3 separate regions of the Homo sapiens genome follow, and regions 2 and 3 are each linked to region 1. Evidence: promoter capture Hi-C in 16 types of primary human blood cells and fetal thymus (Javierre and others, 2016). All regions are on one chromosome and are shown on one strand. The core of a region is centred on a gene start or on the middle of the fragment in contact, and the rest is flanking DNA. Distances in the headings are between cores, read along the strand shown. Region 1 holds the start of OPTC (opticin). Region 2 overlaps ZBED6 (zinc finger BED-type containing 6). Region 3 overlaps ZBED6 (zinc finger BED-type containing 6).

What was found. The method cuts DNA at HindIII sites, captures the fragments that hold promoters and counts their contacts. A CHiCAGO score of 5 or more calls a contact.
Region 2: a fragment that was not itself captured here is called in contact with the fragment with the promoter of OPTC in region 1 in 3 of 17 cell types (M1 macrophages, endothelial precursors and M0 macrophages); the score reaches 6.5 in M1 macrophages.
Region 3: a fragment that was not itself captured here is called in contact with the fragment with the promoter of OPTC in region 1 in 1 of 17 cell types (endothelial precursors); the score reaches 6.0 in endothelial precursors.

The regions. Positions count from the first base shown.
Region 1 is chr1:203,492,463-203,496,170 of GRCh38, forward strand. OPTC (opticin) reads left to right here and starts at 1,691. Exons shown (of 8, transcript NM_014359.4): 1 at 1,691-1,755; 2 at 3,503-3,708. The coding sequence starts at 3,544. RefSeq lists a silencer at 1,184-1,412. The HindIII fragment of the contact is 16,129 bases long and covers 1-3,708 here.
Region 2 is chr1:203,796,002-203,798,701 of GRCh38, forward strand. It overlaps ZBED6 (zinc finger BED-type containing 6), which reads left to right. Exons shown (of 17, transcript NM_001395895.1): 1 at 1-2,700. The coding sequence starts at 1,522. The region is part of intron 1 of ZC3H11A (zinc finger CCCH-type containing 11A); the gene reads left to right. Among named protein-coding and RNA genes, the nearest start is that of ZC3H11A, 1.7 kb to the left of the region's middle. The HindIII fragment of the contact is 1,434 bases long and covers 727-2,160 here.
Region 3 is chr1:203,834,259-203,837,861 of GRCh38, forward strand. All of the region lies in intron 9 of ZBED6 (zinc finger BED-type containing 6), which reads left to right. The region is part of intron 10 of ZC3H11A (zinc finger CCCH-type containing 11A); the gene reads left to right. It also overlaps the pseudogene RPL35AP5. Among named protein-coding and RNA genes, the nearest start is that of SNRPE, 26 kb to the right of the region's middle. The HindIII fragment of the contact is 934 bases long and covers 1,165-2,098 here.

The sequences.
Region 1 (3,708 bases), core at 441-2,940:
ATGCTCTTCTCTGGTGACCAGGCTCTTGGGCTGAGGGAAGCCCCCTCTTGCACCAGCTGGAGCCCAGGAACACAGCAAGCCAAATGCTGCCCTCGAGGGCCAGGCTATTAGATCTGCCTCTTCACCTGGTGTGCCAGGGCAGAGATGAGTTCTGCCAAGCCATCTGCTCTGAGGGCCTGGAAACACACGGATTCAGGACTCCTGGGGAAGAAGGTGGAAATGGGGAGGGTCATATGAACTAAAGAAAACTCTCTGACCAGGGAGTCAAAAAATCTAGGCATTGGCCCTGGCTCTGTGTGACCTAGGGCAAGTCACGTCACCTCTTTGGGCCTCACTCTCCTCATCTATACCACAAGGACTTGGACTAGATCTTTAGGGGGCCTCACAGCTGGAATTCAGTATCTGGTTGGTGGAAAGGAGTAGGGAACAAGGAGAGTCACTGAGAAACCTGGGTGGGCGCCAGGGCACAGGCTGGCAGAAGCTGGGGAAGACTCCTTAGCCACCCCACCTCTGCCTTCAGCAAGGACTTGCTCGGCAGCCTGCTCGAGGCACCAAGGAAAGGGGAGTGTTTCCAGATGAATGCCGTTGGCCCTCTGTATCTGTGGGTTCCACATCCGTGGATTCAACCAACCACAGATTGAAAATATTCAGAAAAAAAAAAAATTCACAACGTTCCAAAAAGGAAAACTTGAATTTGCTGTGTGCCAGTACTATGTGGAATCCATGTGAATGGAGTGAGGTGTAAGCATTGTGTTTGGTGTTATAGGTAATCTAGAGATGATTTGAAGTACACAGGAGGATGTGCGTAGGTTATGTGCAAATTCACCATTTTATATAAAAGACCTCAGCATATGTGGATTTGGTATCCACTGGACGTGCAGAACCAATCCCCCATGGTTACTGAGGGACGACTGTACATCTCTGAGGGTGCGGGAGAGGATACTTCCCAGGCCCCCGAGACCCTACACAATGTCTACTGGTGTTTATGATCCTTTCTAGGGCCCACCTCCCAATTTCCATTTGGTTTCCTCCTAGCAGATTTAGAGAATTTCCCGTATCCTCATGATCATCATCTGTGAACTTGAAGTTGGCTTTCAAATCCGATCTCATCCCCCATACACCTTCTCTTTGAACTACCTAGGCCTGCAGCTCCTGTCTCTGGTGATTTTATTCAATTATGGTCTCTGTGCTGGCGCTCTAGGTGAGGGTGAAGTGCCTCATTTCCACCTATTTTTATCTTTGGATTCTGGCTATGAAGCTGAAGCCTTGTCACTCTCTGGCTGGAGAAAGAAGCTGCAAAGACAAGCTCTATCTCTCCATATCCCCCGACTCCAGCCTTCTCTGAGGACTCAGAATCTGAGGGATGGGGCCCCTTCCTTGCAGGGGATGGCACTCCCTGTTCCTCAAAGATGTGGCCTTATCAGGAGAGTGGACAAGGAAAAGAAAGAAGGAGCTGACAGAGTAAGAGGAGAGAGAGCAGGAGCTGGAGGTGGGGGGTGAAGCGGAAGGTGGGGGGAGAATTCTCTTTTGTCAAATACAGGAATGGGGCAGGGGACCCCCTGAGGAAAGAGGAGGGGAAACAGCTGGACATCAGAAGGAATGAGAAGTCTGATTGGTCGCAGGCCTGGCCAACTCCTTGCCCTCCCCCGGGCACCACTGTCTAACCCAAGCCCCAGTTCAGACAGCCTCCACCAGAGTCCCCACCTTTCTGGAAGCTGCAGGGCTCTCCATCCAGGATCCAGAAGCATTGAAGGGGTAAGGCTCAAGGTTGAGGCCTCTGGCCATCGGTGCGCAAATGAGGGCAAAGTGTTTGGCTGGGGCAGGGGATTGGGAAGGGAAAATGAAGAGAGTTTAGGCCTCTGGCCAAAGAAGTTGGACAAGACTTTTGGGTGGGCACTAAACTCTCTTAGAAAAATTTTTTTTGAGATTATGTAATTCGTTTGGGGTGAGGTATGGGAGGTAAGGTGAAGAAACACCTCTTGCTACTGCTAGAGGCTTGCCCCCTTGCCCAGCTAAAATTAAGAAAGGGTGGGGAGGTTAACTGGGCATGGTAACACACGCCTGTAGTCCCAGCTACTTGGGAGGCTGAGGCAGGAGGACTGCCTGAGCCCAGGAGGTTAAGGCTTCAGTGAGCTGAGATCATGCCATAACACTCCAGGCTGGGCAACAGAGTGACACCGTCTTAAAAATAGAAAATAAAATAAAAATTAAAAGATAAAAAAAATTTTAAAAGAAAGAAAGAGGGAGAGTCTACTAGAAACTTGTGCAGCTAGCTTTGGGGAGGGCTGTGTTAAGCCTACACTGGGTATGACTGTTGTATACACTTATGCCTGGATACAAAACCACACCACATGCATTTCCTGACCCGTCTATACATATACGAACTACATGAACATTTGTACTCACATGCATATCACATACATACGCAGGCATCTGTGTGCACACACACACAAATATACACAGGTATCTAAGGAAATTTCCAGATGCGTACACACTCATGCAATCACACACAAAGAACTCTTTTATCTGTAATAATCTGTTTCTAAAAAGCTGCATTTAGAAGTATATTTCATAAACTAACATTCTTTTTTACATTGTATGTTTCATTGTAAGTCCATGTCTCCTAAAGAGACTAGGTGCTCCTAGGAAGGGCTGTGCCTCATTCATTCTGTACCCACAGAGACAAGTCCTGTGCCTGGAACTCAATAGACACCCATAAATGTTTGTTGAGCAAATGCATGAATGGATGATCTTTATAAAAAACCACAAGAGTCAACTGGGCGCGGTGGCTCACACCTGTAATTCCAGCACTTTGGGAAGCCAGGGTGGGTGGATCACCTAAGGTCAGGAGTTCGACACCAGCCTGGCCAATATGGTGAAACCCCTTCTCTACTAAAAATACAAAAATTAGCCAGGCATGGTGGGTGCCTGTAATCCCAGCTACTCAGGAGGCTGAGGCAGGAGATTCGCTTGAACCCAGAAGGCGGAGGTTGCAGTGAGCCAAGATCGCACCACTGCACTCCAGCCCGGGAAACAAGAATGAAACTTCGTCTCAAAAAAACAAACAAACAAAAAGACCCCATAAGATTATTTGATGTTGACATTCTCTAAATCGAGCTTAGTGACTAGCAGTCATGTTCTGAGCATGGGGTTGTTTAAGAGAGGACATCTGTGTGCATGCACCAGTGTGTGCCTCGTTTGTAAACAAGGGGACTCTTGTGAATGTGTCTGTGTTGAGATGTGTCTGCACATGCCTCTGTGAGTGAATATCAGTGTTTGGGTGAGCGTGTAAAAACACTCAAGTGGGGCGGTGGAGGGAGGGGGCTGCTAGGAGATACCCCCCAAGACATAGTCCCAGCTGGTAGGGAATTTGTGCATGTGATGAGAGCACTGAGTCTGCAAGTGTGGGGGTGGGAAGTGGAGTAAATCTGCGAGCCATTCCCACAACACTCTGGAGAGCCTGTCCCTCAGATCGCTGCCCTTCCTCGTGCCCACTTGCCAGGACCAGCCGCTGAAGGGATTCTCAGTCCCATCTGACTCCCCATGAGGCTCCTGGCTTTCCTGAGTCTGCTGGCCTTGGTGCTGCAGGAGACAGGGACAGCTTCTCTCCCAAGGAAGGAGAGGAAGAGGAGAGAGGAGCAGATGCCCAGGGAAGGCGATTCCTTTGAAGTTCTGCCTCTGCGGAATGATGTCCTGAACCCAGACAAC
Region 2 (2,700 bases), core at 194-2,693, 300 kb after region 1:
TCCCGCTCACTTTTCCCATCCTCCCCACCCCCACCCCGTTCACCCCACCCCCACGGCGCCTGCTCCTTTCCCAGCCAACCTTCCTCCCCTCCCCCACATCCGGTGTTCGCTAATCTCGAGGAGCCCGGAGCAGCCCCGAAAACCGACTGTTCCCCCGAATCCCGAAGAGAGAACTGACACTAGATTGCTTTCTTCGGGGCAACAGTTTCTCTAGTTGAGCGGACCCTCACTGCCTAAATCAATCAGACTGAGTGCCGGGCGCTGAATTTACCTACTCTCATTCCTCTCCAGGGTCCCGGTACTTTGGAGCTTGTCTCAAACTCCACATACAGAAAGCCACCGACCTTATTCCGGTATCCTACACCCATTCCCCACTCTCATTACACTCCCACCCCTGGCCCTCAGCGTCGGAGTCAAGAGCAACAGGGACACTTCCGTTCTCCTTGTAGGACTGGTGAAACCGTAATGAAGAACACCCCTAAACTCCCATAATCGGTGCGGATTCCTATGGGGAAGGCCTATATTGTTGACATCTTCCAGGCCTTGGTTCTGGACCTTGAGAAAGAGGCTGTGGAACTAGAGATAGCGATGCTTTTTAGGGTAAATGTATGTAGGTATTGGGGGAAGGGGAGGGATCAATCGAAAAATGGAAGTGGTTTAAAGTTCATATTTCACTTTTTGCTATCTCTATAGCGTACAACTTGTGAGTTACTTACAGGCTGTAAAAGCTTCTCAAGTCTAAAAATATCTGAAAACTAAACTTGAATTAACTCTTAATACAAACAGTACTTTGAAAATGCAGCATTTAACCTTGTTTTAAAATTTTTTTCTCAAAGCATTTTTTTCCAGCCACTCACATTTTAAAAGGTTGTATTACTTTTAGTTAGAACTGAAAGGGCTCAACTAGCATTTGCTGTGACCAGTATGCGGAGTCTGTGTTGGCTTTCCAGAATTGACTTTTTGGGTTGTATTGGCAAATCACAGTCCTAAATGATGAATGTTGAATGATGCACTATGTTTTTGTTTAAATGAGATTTCCTGAAAATAGTTAATTTCAGAATTAAGGGAAATTGATGTCGCTATCATGAGGCATCATAAAAATATGTATTTTACAAGGTGAAGGCATTTCAAGTAGATATAGTTCTTGATGAAGCAGGAAGAACATGGATCTGGGATTTGGAAGACCTGGCTTCTAGCTGCTACTAACCAACTCTGTGACTCTGGGAAAGGGGGACTCAGTTCTTACTTCTGTAACATGAGGACACTGGACTATTTGAATTCAGAACTTAGAAAATTGGAAGGGACCTTAAAGCCCTCTAAGAAAGAGTTCGGGAATGTTCTCCATTGCTGTCAGTTTTCCTCCAAAAATAACCTGGCTTGGAAGTTATTGGTCCAGTGGGAATTTGATTCCCCATAGAAACTGGAGAAAAGGTAATGCAAGTAGAGAGGAACAGCTGTATTTCTGCTTGAGTAATAAACCCACTAACAGATTCTGGTACGAATTGTGGAGACATAAAGAGAATGAGTGTATGTACTCTAAGTGTACCAGTTTCTTCACTCTCTCCTGGCAGAAGATGCAACACTTTTAGTGATTCTGGGATTCTGGGATGTGTTCCTATTAATTCTAATACAGATGAAGAAGATGTGGTAGAGGAAAAGATGGTAGCAGAAGGAGTGAATAAAGAGGCAAAACAGCCTGCTAAAAAGAAAAGAAAGAAGGGTTTGCGAATTAAGGGGAAAAGGCGTCGAAAAAAATTGATTCTTGCCAAAAAGTTTAGTAAGGATTTGGGATCTGGGAGGCCTGTTGCAGATGCCCCTGCTTTGTTAGCTTCCAATGACCCTGAGCAGGATGAAGAAAGTCTTTTTGAGAGCAATATAGAAAAACAGATCTATCTACCTAGTACTAGAGCCAAGACCTCCATTGTGTGGCACTTCTTTCATGTTGACCCCCAGTACACCTGGCGGGCCATTTGTAACCTCTGTGAGAAAAGCGTCAGCAGGGGTAAACCAGGTAGCCATCTTGGTACATCTACTCTTCAACGACATCTGCAAGCAAGGCATTCACCTCATTGGACCAGGGCCAACAAGTTTGGAGTTGCTAGTGGAGAGGAGGACTTTACCTTGGATGTGTCTTTATCTCCCTCTTCTGGAAGCAATGGAAGCTTTGAATATATTCCTACTGATCCATTAGATGATAATAGAATGGGCAAGAAGCATGATAAATCAGCATCTGATGCCCTAAGGGCAGAAAGAGGGAGATTTCTCATCAAAAGTAACATTGTCAAGCATGCTTTAATTCCTGGAACTAGAGCCAAGACATCTGCCGTTTGGAATTTTTTTTACACTGATCCTCAGCACATCTCAAGAGCTGTGTGTAATATATGTAAAAGAAGTGTGAGCCGGGGTAGGCCAGGGTCCCACTTAGGGACTTCAACACTTCAACGACACCTGCAAGCCACACATCCTATCCATTGGGCTGTTGCCAACAAAGACAGTGGTGCTGTTGCAAATGGATTAGATGAAGCTGAGACTGAGAGAAGTGATCTCTTGAGTGATACCTTGCATGGAGAAAAGTCTACAGGCAGCCAAGATTTAACAGCTGAGGACCTTAGTGACTCTGATTCAGATGAACCTATGTTAGAGGTTGAAAACAGATCTGAAAGTCCTATTCCCGTTGCAGAGCAAGGCACTCTGATGCGT
Region 3 (3,603 bases), core at 382-2,881, 340 kb after region 1:
TTGGTGCTTGCTTATTTATTTATTTATTTAGAGACAAGAGTCTTGTTTTGTTACCCAGGCTGGAGTGCAGTGGTGCAATCTCAGCTCACTGCAACCTCCACCTCCTGGACTCAAGTGATCCTCCTGCCCCAGCCTCTCAAGTAACTGGGACCATAGGCCTACACCACCATACCTGGCTAATTTTTGTATTTTTTATAGTGATAGGGTTTCACCATGTTGCCCAGGCTGGTCTCCAACTCCTGGGCTCAAGTGATCTGTCGGCCTTGGCCTCCCAAAGTACTGCAATTACAGGCATGAGATACCATGCTTGGCTGCTATTTTATTTTTGGGGGAGTACTTTACCATATTAGTAAATTGTTGTATAACTACCCTAACGTGTCTGACTCCAAAAAATTATTATTATCATTTGAAACGAGAGTCTTGCTCTGTCGCCCACGCTGGCGTGCACTGGCACAATCTCAGCTCACTGCAACCTCCACCTCCTGGGTTCAAGTGATTCTCCTGCCTCAGCCTCTCAAGTAGCTGGGATTACAGGCACTACCCCTGGCTAATTTTTGTATTTTTAGTAGAGATGGGGTTTCCACCATGTTGGCCAGGCTGGTCTCGAACTCCTGCCCTCAGGTGATCCACCCGCCTCTGCCTCCCAAAGTGCTGGGATTATAGGCATGAGCCACTGCTCTGGCCTTCAAAAAATTATTTTGAAAATTTTTTCTGACTTCAGAATTTTCTTCATACTGTTTTAAATGTCCTAAAAAGGAAACCTTATCTATCTCTATTTTGTGTTGTCTTTGATGCAGTTCTCACTACCCTATCTTCAGAACCGTTCTGAACTTAGTCACATTTCAAAGTTTCAGACAGTGAGAGATGGGAATGTATTGTTGAATCAGTTATGCACTTTACGCTCTAAGTAATAAAAAACTTTCAGCGATGAGATAATGCCCATGAATGAAATTAATATTTGCTGTGGCTTTGCTGTATATCAAAGAACATTATGTAAATTCTCATCGAATCCTTGGCAACCATGAGTAAACCATGCACAATGCTTGGCACTTGATATCAGTAAATATTTTCTGCACTGAGCTCAAACTCAGGAAGGGTTAAATAACTTGCCTAAGGTTATAGTCAGATGAATACATTACACGTTATACAGTCATTTACGAAAAAAGCTTAGAAGAGACAGAAATGAGGCAGTCTTTAGAAATCTCTTCTAGCTGTAAATCAAGAAACAATAACAGTTCTAGATTTTAAGAGCAGTATTTTATTTTTGTTTATTTATTTATTTACAATAGCGCAAATCCACTTTTACTGACTTTTCATTAGCTTAAACCCTTGTGGTGTACAGCGTCACTCAGATTCTGTGTCCAATAGCATTAGCAGGAAGATTGCTTTGGAATTTGGCATGAACCACACCACTGTTTCCATGGGCTTGAGTTACCTTTCCCCAGATGACTCTGGTTTTGTTTGGTTTGCCACCAGGAGTCACTGTGTTGTCCTTTGCTTTGTATACATAAGCACATCTCTTGCCCAAATAGAATTTTGTTTCATCTGGGGCATAAACACCTTCAATTTTAAGAAAAGCTATGTGCTCCCTTTTTTTCCGGAGACCCCACTTATAGCCAGCAAAAATGCCCTTGGACCACAGCCTTCCAGACATACTTCCTTTAAGAAGTCCTGTTCCCAGGAGGCCTCCACAGGATCCAAGATGGTGGGGAGAGCTAAGAGCAGTATTTTAATATCTCAGCATGTATTTAGAGTACAAACCAAACCAGGGTTCCAAATTAATAGGACTTTCAGCTTGGATAAAGCTGATCTAGAAATTTTAGGTAGAAAAAAATAATACTAAGCCAGGTATGGTGGTGCATGCCTGTCATCCCAGCTGCGTGGGCAGCTGAGGTTAGAGGATCCCTTGAGTCCAGGAGTTTGAGTCCAGTCTGGGCAACATAGCAAGACCCTGTCTCTAAAAATAATAATTAAAAGTTCTTAAAATATAGAAATGAGCTGTTTTAACATCAGCATACCTGTAAACTTTGTGATGGTTTTATATTTAAATTATAAATGAGGGGAGAGAAACAATCATACTCTGTGTAGGGTCTTTTGAAGCTTTGATACCTTGCAAACAATGTAACTTCAGTCAAGTAATCTAAAAAACCGTTTTTAAAAACTGGTGACTTTTAAACAACTTGTATTGAACAGTGTAATAAAACTAGAAGGCTGGGCGCGGTAGCTTACGCCTGTAATCCCAGCACTTTGAGAGGCTGAGGCAGGTGGATCACAAGGTCAGGAGTTCGAGACCGGCCTGATCAACATGGTGAAACTACTAAAAATACAAACATCTCTACTACAAAAAAGTCTACTAAAAATACAAAAATCAGCCAGGCATGGTGGCATGCGCCTGTAATTCCAGCTACTCGGGAGGCTGAGGTAGGAGAATCGCTTGAACCCGGGAGGTGGAGGTGGCAGTGAGCTGAGATCTTCCCACTGCACTCCAGCCTGGGCGAAAGAATGAGACTCCGTCTCAGAAAGCAGCTAGAATTAGGAAACTTGATTTAGGTCTTGGCTGTATCACTAACTAGTTGATGACTTGGGTAAGATACAGAATATTTCAGAACCTTAGATTTCTTTTCTAGAATTGGAGAGAGAGGGGTTATGTGGCTCTTAAAGTCTTCATACTAAAAAACTTAAAATTTAATAATTCTTAACCTGTCTTCCTCATCCTGTATGCATTTACTTAATTCAGCAGCTGACCAGTTAAGATTTTTGGGGGGGCCTGGCATAGTGCTGTAATCCTAGCATTTGGAGGCTGAAGTGGGCAGATCACCTGAGCTCAGGAGTTCAAGACCAGCCTGGGCAACATGGCAAACCCTTGTCTCTACTAAAAATACAAAAATTAACCAGGCATGGCATGTGCCTATAGTCCAGCTACTTGGGAGGCTGAGGTGGGAGGATCGCTTGAGCCTAGGAGGTGGAGGTTGCAGTGAGCTGAGATTGCACCACTGCACTCCAGCCTGGGTGACAGAGTGAGATCCTGTCTCAAAAAAAAAAAAAAGGGTTCTTTTGTACATGAAGATTTTTCACATTTCTAATTCTGAACTTTAATCTCAACCAGGGTTTATGACCTTTCATTTGTAGGTTTGTCAGTTAATTTATTTGGTAAATGTTTGTGTATTCTAATTTTTTGTTCTTTCCCTTGTCTCTCTTTTTTTTTTTTTCTTGAGAATGGGGCCTTGCTGTATCGCCCAGGCAGGAGTGTAGTATTATGATCATAGCTCAGTATTATGATCATAGCTCACTGTAGCCTTTCTACCTCCTGGGCTCAAGTGATCCTTCTGCTTCAGCCTCCTAAGTAGCTGGGACCACAGGTGTGTGCCACCATGCCTGACTATTTTTTATTTTAATTGTTTTAGAGACAAGGTCTTGCTGTGTTGCCCAGGCTGGTCTCGAACTCCTGGCCTTAAGTGATCCTCCTGCCTTGACCTCCCAAAGTGCTGAGATTACAGGCCTGAGCCACTGCACCTTGCCTTCCTTACCTCTTTTCTCCGACATTTTTATGTTTCTAACATTGAACTCTAAGGAAGCTGGTGAACAAACACGCCATATGTATGC